Linked DNA regions of Homo sapiens: region 1 is linked to region 2. The links are contacts of gene promoters, found by promoter capture Hi-C in blood cells and fetal thymus (Javierre and others, 2016). All regions are on one chromosome and are shown on one strand. The core of a region is centred on a gene start or on the middle of the fragment in contact, and the rest is flanking DNA. Distances in the headings are between cores, read along the strand shown. Region 1 overlaps SYNJ1 (synaptojanin 1). Region 2 holds the start of URB1 (URB1 ribosome biogenesis factor).

Region 1 (4,402 bases), core at 1,704-4,203, 270 kb before region 2:
AATAACCACCGTCTGTCATTAGTTCTTTTAAGGGAAAATTGTATTCCAAAAAAAAAGTGGCAGTTTGACTCACAATTTAAAGCATTTTCTTTTTTTGTTACAGATCATAAGTCAGTATGCAACACAAGTGCTTTGTATGTATTTCCTGTGTATCACACAGAATATTAAAAAGATGTGACCTGGGTTGAGCTTTAATAAAATCAATAATGTCTGTTGCTTCATCAAGGACATTCTTAGGCGAAGTGGCATTTTTTTTTTCCTGCAAGTATATGGCAGTGGGGATTGTAATGATGACTAGTATAGTTTGGTGCCTAAATTCGAGTGAAAGCACCAGCACTTTTACCCATTGTTGCTTTTGCACCATCAGTGCAAATGTTAGTCAACACAGTGAAAGATGTCTTAATAGTATGATGAAAATAGTTGTGACCCCATGGGCTTTGGGAACCCTCAAAGATGTCTCCAGATCACACTTTGGGAACGCTGTTCTGAATCCATATTATAAATACAAATTATATGAGTGAGGCTTAAAACTTCAGTGTTTTATTTTAACAAAGTATGCTTGCTTTTAAATTTCAGCAGTTTCCCATCTTTTATGACATTTTTAAAGATTTTTAGGAGAAAATTATAGGCTGAAATAGTCATCAATCTTGCAAGTGACAAATATTTTATTAGGCAAAATGAAAAACAATTCACATCAGGAAAATTGGAAAGAAATCAACTTCACCCATTTTGTTGTTTGATTATGTTTCCTGAAAAATATATTCAGGTCCTAAACTAGACTATAACTCTGAGGGTTCCTAGTACTAAGTGCATGGATCAATTGTTTGTCTAAATAGAGTTTAATCAAATTCTTCTTTAGGCTAGGTTTAATCAAATTCTTTAGGCTGGGTGTGGTGGCTCATGCCTGTAATCCCAATGCTTTGGGAGGCCAAGGCAGGTGGATCACTTGAGGTCAGGAGTTTGAGACCAGCCTGGCCAATATAGTGAAACCCTATCTCTACTAAAAATACAAAAAAATCAGCTGGACGTGGTGCCCCGTGCCTGTAATCCCAGCTACTCAGGAGGCTGAGGCAGGGAGAATCGCTTGAACCTGGGAGACGGAGGTTGCAGTGAGTGGAGATCGCACCACCGCACTCCGGCCTGAGTGACAGAGCAAGACTCTGTCTCAAATATGTATATGTATATATATATACACACATGCACACACACACACACACACACACACACACACACACACACATATATATTCTTCTTTAATAAAGTAGTGAATATTTATTCATTTATTTAAGCAGTACCTACTGAGTACCACTCTTAAGTACCTCCAATGAATCAAACAGACAAAAATCCCTATCTTCATGGACTTCGTATTCTAGTGGGAAGAAACGGACAGTGAACAATAACAACAATAAGTAAATTATACAGCATGTTAGAAAAGTGCAATGGAAAAGAGAGGAAAAGGAGATCAACTATAGGGACACAGGGAAGTGTTGGAAGTCTCAAATGAATGATCAAGATAAGGTTCATTGAGAAGATGAGGAATGAGTTTCAGCTACTTGCGGGGCTGAGGTGGGAGGATCGCTTGAGCTCAGGCAGAGGTTGCAGTGAACCGACATCCTGCCACAGCACTCCAGCCCTGGGTGACAGAGTGAGACCCCATCTCAAGAAAAAAAGAGAGATTAGGAGACATGACAAGCAAATGCAATATGTAGACCTTGTTTGGACCCTTTTTAAAGAAACAAACCAACTGTTAGAAGATTTTTTTTTAATAAATGGGGAACTTTAAGTATAAACTATTAGATGATATTAAGGAATTATTAATGTTTAAATGTGATAAGGTGAAGAGGATGGAAAAAATAGATTGGCAAAATGTTGGTAATTTTGAAATGGGTATATGGTGGTTTGTTTAATGATTATGTCTTCTAATTTCCCATAGCAAGATTTTTTAAAAAGACATTAGTTATAATTTAGAAAAATTTTGAAAAGTGGGGAAATGTATTTGGAAGCACATATAGTCACATATATGTGCACAGTTAGCTGTCCTTATCCATGGGTCTGACATCTTTGGATTCAACTCATCAAAATATTAAATATTTTTTAAAATTGTGTCTATACTGAACATGTGTAGCCTTTTTTTTTTTGTCTTTTTTACTTGCAGACTTTTTTGTATCGTTATTCCCTAAACATTACAATATAACAACTAATTACATTGTATTAGGTATTATAGGTAATCTAGAGATGATTTAAAGTATACGAGAGATTTACATGGGTTATATGCAAGTATTACTCCATTTTATGTAAGGGACTTGAGTATCCTTGGATTTTGGTATCATGGGAGGTCCTGAAACCAATCTCCCACAGATACTTCTATACTTCTCTGTGATCTTAATGAATACTTAAGGAAAAAGTAAAATGTATAAGTTTGAATTTACTCACCCAGTGAGTAGCCATTTAATGTCTTTATATTTTCTTTGTAAAGAAGTAATAGATTAGATTTTGAAATGTGGTTTTCTTTTGGCTAAATTGTAGATTTTCCTTTTTAAAGGAAACAAAAACAGCCTAAGCTTCCTTCAGAGTCTTAGGATATTTGGGTAGATAAAGGTATAATTGACAATTGTCATAAAATAGGCTATTGTCAATACCTTTTTAAAAAATTCTCTTTTTAATATTTTCTTGTAGCACAACAAATCAGAAGCTCTGGGCTGTAGAACTTCAGAAGACAATCTCCAGAGACAACAAGTATGTGCTGCTGGCTTCTGAACAGTTGGTGGGCGTCTGTTTGTTTGTTTTTATCAGACCACAGCATGCTCCTTTTATCAGGTCAGTAAACAGAACACTCCTCTAAGGCTACTTCCTACCATTAAATAACAAGAAAAAAGCCTAGAATGTTTATTGTTTCAGTTCTTCAAACAAAAACTATCCATAGTTCTTGTTTTAAAATGGGGTTTTGGGGGTTTTGATTAAAGACTCACCAATAGCTTCACTGTACTATTTCAAAGGCTTGCCCTCAAAGTACCATACCATGTGTACTTAAATGATTATGTATATTCCTCATTTCCTATGCACATGGAACTCTTGAAATTTCAAATCTGCGATTTAGAATTCTTTGTTTCAAAGGGATGTTGCAGTTGATACTGTGAAGACTGGAATGGGAGGTGCAACTGGAAATAAGGGAGCAGTTGCAATCCGAATGCTCTTCCATACAACCAGCCTTTGCTTCGTCTGTAGCCACTTTGCTGCAGGGCAGTCACAAGTCAAAGAAAGAAATGAAGATTTTATAGAAATAGCACGAAAATTGAGTTTTCCTATGGTAAGCTCTTGCTGCTTGTTCTTGAAGATAAAGCTTTGAAATATATTTTAATTTGCCCCAAATTCTACATCAATGTTTTTGGAAATTTAAGATAGTTCCTAGAAACATTAAGAATATTCACCTAAATAGATATTTCATGAGTATTAACCCAAAATATCTGAGACAGGGCTCAGTCAATTTAGAAAGTTTATTTTGCCAAGGTTAAGGATGTGGCCATGATATAGCCTCCAGAATTCAGAATGACATGTGCCCAAGGTGGTCGGGGGTACAGTTTGCTTTTATACATTTTAGGGAGACCTGAGACATCAGTCAGTATGTGTATGATGTACACTGGTTTGGTCTGGTAAGGCAGGACAACTCGAAGTGGGGGCTTCCAGGTTAGAAGTAGATAAGACGCAAAAGGTTGCATTCTTTTAAGTCCTAGATCAGCCTTCCACTGAATACACAATTTAGTGTGGCTCAGTGAATCTGCATTTTTGCATAAACAATAGGGCAGAGGAAGCAGTCAGATGTGCATTTGTCTCAGGTGAGTCTCAGAGGGATGACTTTGAGTTCAGTCTATACTTTGTCCACAAGGAATTTCCTGTGGGCAAATTGTGAGGGAGTTATGTAGCTTCTTATCTTTGGAGCTATCTTATTTAGGAGTAAAATGGGAGGCAGGTTTACCTGTCATAGTTCCTGGCTTGATTTTTCTCTGGGCTTAGTGATTTTGGGGTCCTGAGATTTATTTTCGTTTCACATGTGTTATTACTGTTGGGTCAAAGAAACAGGACATGGGAGGAGACAAGCATATCTCAGGCAAAGAAATAGTTGTAAAACATTTTTGAACATTGATTGTTTTGAATTTAAAATTCTATCTCATTGCTTTCAGGGAAGGATGCTATTTTCCCATGACTATGTATTTTGGTGTGGTGATTTCAACTATCGAATCGATCTCCCTAACGAAGAAGTTAAAGAGCTCATAAGACAGCAAAATTGGGATTCTCTTATAGCAGGAGATCAACTTATCAATCAGAAAAATGCTGGACAGGTATATCTATACTTGAGAAAATACTTGCATTAAGATTTTGGGTCGTGAAACATGCCTTTTTAAAT
Region 2 (4,632 bases), core at 498-2,997:
TCTAAAACATCCAAATGCACTTCTGAGCCACACTTGCCATCCATACATCTCTGGCTAAGGCTGTAAATGGGCACTGCCAACTTCTGTTTCTTTGTTTTTAATTTGGGACTAGGATACACTGGGTGAGTCCTGGCTCCACCAGTTACTAGCTGGATAATCCTGGGAAGTTCCTCATGCTCTTTAATTGTTTGTAAAGCAAACCAGCACAGAGGGATGGTAATTTGCCCAAGGTCACACAGGCAGAAACTGAACTCAGGGCTTTTGACTGTTTCCTAACTCTTTCTGATAACTTTTTGGTTGGGACCACCATGGCAGAAAACAAAGTTGGTGGTTAGCGATTAACCAAAGAAGAGGACCAGTGTGGATAATCAGTCAGAATTAAGTCTGTATTCACTAATGAGTGTTGCCTTTTACAGATGACTTTTTGAGCATATTCCCCTCTCTTAACATTGCTGCATTAGCTCATATCTGCTAGGGGTGACACCCTCTCTCTGACCTGCCTACAACATAGACATCTCCACAGGCACAATCATCTTGTCGGGACAGAGGCTCAGCGTCAACACACGTGCTTTTTCTACTAGAAACTCTGAGACCCCAACAGGCCACAAAAGCCCACATCCTCAGATGTTCAAAACACATCTGCTTACAGAATATGAAACACAATTTTCTTAGACTAGAGGACAACCTGATGGAGAATTTCAGTAATCACCAAGTTACTTATCTAATGCGCTGGTTCATGATTTATTTGGACACATACCTAAGTATCGATGAAGTCGTATTAAAATATGTACCAGCCTGTTTTTACTTATTTTTACTTTCATTTTATTTCAGAGCATTTAATGCGGTTTACAAATCAATCACATCTTCCAAAAACACACTGTGTTGTTTTTCTCCTCAAAGCAGTTTTTCATACATTGCATCATTTTCTGTTCATAACAGTCCCAAGGACTGGATAGGGTCGGCTTTGCTGTCTCCATTTTAATGACAGGAACTTAGATGTGGAGGCCTTACGCTGTCCAGGAAGGGGTTTTACAGACGTTACTTCGTTTGGTCTTCTCCTCCCACCCTGCACGGCGCAAAGAGCCCATCAGTTTGCGGAAGTCTGGGGTGGAGGACAGTCTGGAGTGACAGGCTGCTACCAGACCAGTCGATCTGGTTCGGGCTGTGACATAAGCTAGGGGTCGAAGTCAGGGGCACCCGCACAGGCGGACCTGCCTGGCACCTAGCCAAGGCGAATCCACCTTCCCGGCCAGCCACCAGGGCCTTGAATTGGCAAAGTATCGAATCCTGTTGTGTGTGAAGCAAGCTCTTCATGCGACACCTTCAGGGCGACCTCGGGTCAAGAACTACTCATTGTGCTGCTTGGACGCGCCGGGGCCCGAGTCTTCGTGGATCGGCCAGGCCAGGAGTGAAAGGTCTGGGAGTTCTTCCGGCCAAGAGCACCCGAAGAGCCACTGGGATCAGAAATGCGCCCCGGTGGACCCCAAACCCTGCAGCCGGGGGCGGGGGGTGTCGTGGAGTGTCCGCTCGCCCCATGCCGTGACCGGGACAACCGGTACAGCAAACTCACATGGAGCCCCAAGACTCTGGATCCCCAAGACTCTGGATCCCTATCGCCCCGCCCCTTCTGCAGGCCACGCCCCTTCCGCCGGTCCCAGCCTCGCGCGGGTCGGCCCCTTCCGCCGGCCTTTCCCCGAGCCCCGCCTCTTCCGCCAGCCCCGCCTCTTCCGCCAGCCCCGCCTCTTCCTGCGCCATGTGGGCCTGAAGCGCGTGTCTGCTGTCTGTGCCAGTGCTCCTGCCGGGTCCCCTCAGGTGTGTCGTTTCCGTCGCGCTTCCGCCCTCTCGGCCATGGGGGTCCCCAAGAGGAAGGCCTCGGGCGGCCAGGACGGCGCGGCTTCCTCCGCGGGTGCAGCCAAGCGCGCCCGCAAAGAAGAGCTCACGGGCGTGCGGTTCAAGGCTCAGCTGAAGGACCCGCAGGGCCCCGGGCCAGGTGAGTCCGGGGCGGCAGGCGCAGGGTCGGGAGCACAGGCTGGCGAGGCGGCCTCCGTGTGCCGGGCACAGCCTCTCCTTTCTGCAGCTTTCGGGTCACATAGGCTCAGTGGCAAGCCTCTGGTTTGCAGAAAACTGAGGTTCAGGACTGCTGTGTACTTCCTTGCTCTGGACTGTCGGCGACAGCGAGAGGGCCCCGACTTGCTTGATTGGGACCGTTTCATGTTACAACACATTTATTTCCCTTGCCCAGGCAGCATCCCTCAGCGAGCTCTAAAACCTCTTTATTGCAGTTGTCAGGGAAGTAAATGAAGTGTCCTTCTCTATTGAGTCCTTACTGAGTCGGCTCAGGACGGTTCATGAGACAGTTTGCTACTCCTTGGGCCGTCAGCACCGTTTTCAATAGCTTCCATCCCCCAACACTCATACTGACTTGATGACTTGTAACAAGCTACTAGAAGCCACCACAGCTACTTGTCAGTTGACCAGGAATGGGCCAGTGACTGAGATGTAGCCGACTCTATAATTTAATTACACTTTTTGTAAAGTGTGACCACCCTTCGCGACTACTTGTAATCGTTTGGAAAGTAACATGGTTTGGGAAAAACGCAATTGAACGTGTTGCCATGTGGAAGCATTGCTCTAAAATAAAACAGTGGCAGTTTTTCTCCCAGGTTAAATAAACGATTAAATTAATGGCCAAAATATCTTCAACTTCCAATTTTTGTCCTCATTTTTTTTTTTAAACGACAGGGTCTTGCTCTGTTGCCCAGGCTGAAGTGCAGTGGCACTATCATAGCTCACTGCAGCCTTGAACTTCTGGGCTTAAGCTGTCCTCCCACCTCAGCCTCCCAAGTAGCTGAGATTGTAGGTGCACAACACCATGCCCAGCTATGTTTTTTTTTTTTTTTTTACTTTTTGTAGAGATGGAATCTCACTATGTTGTCCAGGCTGCCCTCGAACTCCCAGTCTCAAGCAATCTTCCCACCTTGTCTTCTCAAAGGGCTGGGAGTATAGGTATGAGCCACCACACCTGGCCTGTTTTTAAACTTTGATACCTATACCTGTACTTGCTAGTCACAGCTAGGAAGATGATACTTAGTTAGCATAGAGTTATTTATTTCCGAATTCATTAAGTATTACTAGAGGCTATTATTTGCTACGGTAGAGATAAAGTGATGAATAAAAATGTCAAAAAGCCTCTGCCATTGTGGGGTTTACAAACAGTCGAGTGGGGCAGGCAGATATTGGTCAGTAAAATCACATACATACAGTTTCAAGCACGAGTTTTCCAAAGGAGAGGTACATGGTGCCTGAGGGTGTTTAACAGACCTTGGATCTAATCTGGGAGCTCAAAGAAGGCTCCCCTGAGGAAGTGGCTTTTCTTTTCTTTTTTTTTTAATCATACTTTAAGTTTTAGGGTACATGTGCACAACGTGCCCCTTTGTTACATATGTATACATGTGCCATGTTGGTGTCCTGCACCCATTAACTCGTCATTTAACCTTAGGTATATCTCCTAATGCTGTCCCTCCCCCCTCCCCCCGACCCGACAACAGGCCCCGGTGTGTGATGTTCCCCTTCCTGTGTCCATGTGTTCTCATTGTTCAGTTCCCACCTATGAGTGAGAACATGCGGTGTTTGGTTTTTTGTCCTTGCGATAGTTTGCTGAGAATGATGGTTTCCAGCTTCATCCATGTCCCTACAAAGGACATGAACTCATCGTTTTTTATGGCTGCATAGTATTCCATGGTGTATATGTGCCACATTGTCTTAATCCAGTCTATCATTGTTGGACATTTGGGTTGGTTCCAAGTCTTTGCTATTGTGAATAGTGCCACAGTAAACGTACGTGTGCATGTGTCTTGATAGCAGTATGATTTATAATCCTTTGGGTATATACCCAGTAATGGGATGACTGGGTCAAATGGTATTTCTAGTTCTAGATCCCTGAGGAATCGCCACACTGACTTCCACAATGGTTGAACTAGTTTACAGTCCCACCAACAGTGTAAAAGTGTTCCCATTTCTCCACATCCTCTCCAGCACCTGTTGTTTCCTGACTTTTTAATGATCGCCATTCTAATTGGTGTGAGATGGTATCTCATTGTGGTTTTGATTTGCATTTCTCTGATGGATCTAATTAAACTAAAGAGCTTGTGCACAGCAAAAGAAACTACCATCAGAGTGAACAGGCGACCTACAGAATGGGAGAAAATTTTTGCAATCTACTCATCTGACAAAGGGCTAATATCCAGAATCTACAATGAACTCAAACAAATTTACAAGAAAAAAAAAAACCCCATCAAAAAGTGGGCAAAGGATATGAACAGACACTTCTCAAAAGAAGACATTTATGCAGCCAAAAGACACATGAAAAAATGCTCATCATCACTGGCCATCAGAGGAAGTGGCTTTTCAAAAGGATTGTAGGATGGGACAGGGACAGGAACCTTACTGGCAGAAGAAAGAGCACGTTTAATTGTTAAAAAGATGTAGTATCTATATTTCATGGTCTTGCACAGAGAGCCTCATGACATTCAGGTGCTACATCATTTGAACACATGTCAGAAGGAGACCCAGGTTGACAGGGCATGGGTGTAGGTGAGTAGTTGAAAGATGGGGCAAAGCTGAGTCAATGGG

Evidence for each region. The method cuts DNA at HindIII sites, captures the fragments that hold promoters and counts their contacts. A CHiCAGO score of 5 or more calls a contact.
Region 1: a fragment that was not itself captured here is called in contact with the fragment with the promoter of URB1 in region 2 in 1 of 17 cell types (megakaryocytes); the score reaches 5.1 in megakaryocytes.

What each region holds. Positions count from the first base shown.
Region 1 is chr21:32,664,848-32,669,249 of GRCh38, reverse strand. SYNJ1 (synaptojanin 1) reads left to right here. Exons shown (of 33, transcript NM_203446.3): 16 at 2,677-2,817; 17 at 3,115-3,307; 18 at 4,179-4,337. Among named protein-coding and RNA genes, the nearest start is that of CFAP298-TCP10L, 55 kb to the right of the region's middle. The HindIII fragment of the contact is 779 bases long and covers 2,564-3,342 here.
Region 2 is chr21:32,390,127-32,394,758 of GRCh38, reverse strand. It overlaps URB1 (URB1 ribosome biogenesis factor), which reads left to right and starts at 1,747. Exons shown (of 39, transcript NM_014825.3): 1 at 1,747-1,990. The coding sequence starts at 1,849. URB1-AS1 (URB1 antisense RNA 1 (head to head)) reads right to left here and starts at 1,626. Exons shown (of 1, transcript NR_026845.1): 1 at 799-1,626. RefSeq lists enhancers at 1,145-1,394, 917-1,698, 1,545-1,839, 1,699-2,481. The HindIII fragment of the contact is 11,778 bases long and covers 1-4,632 here.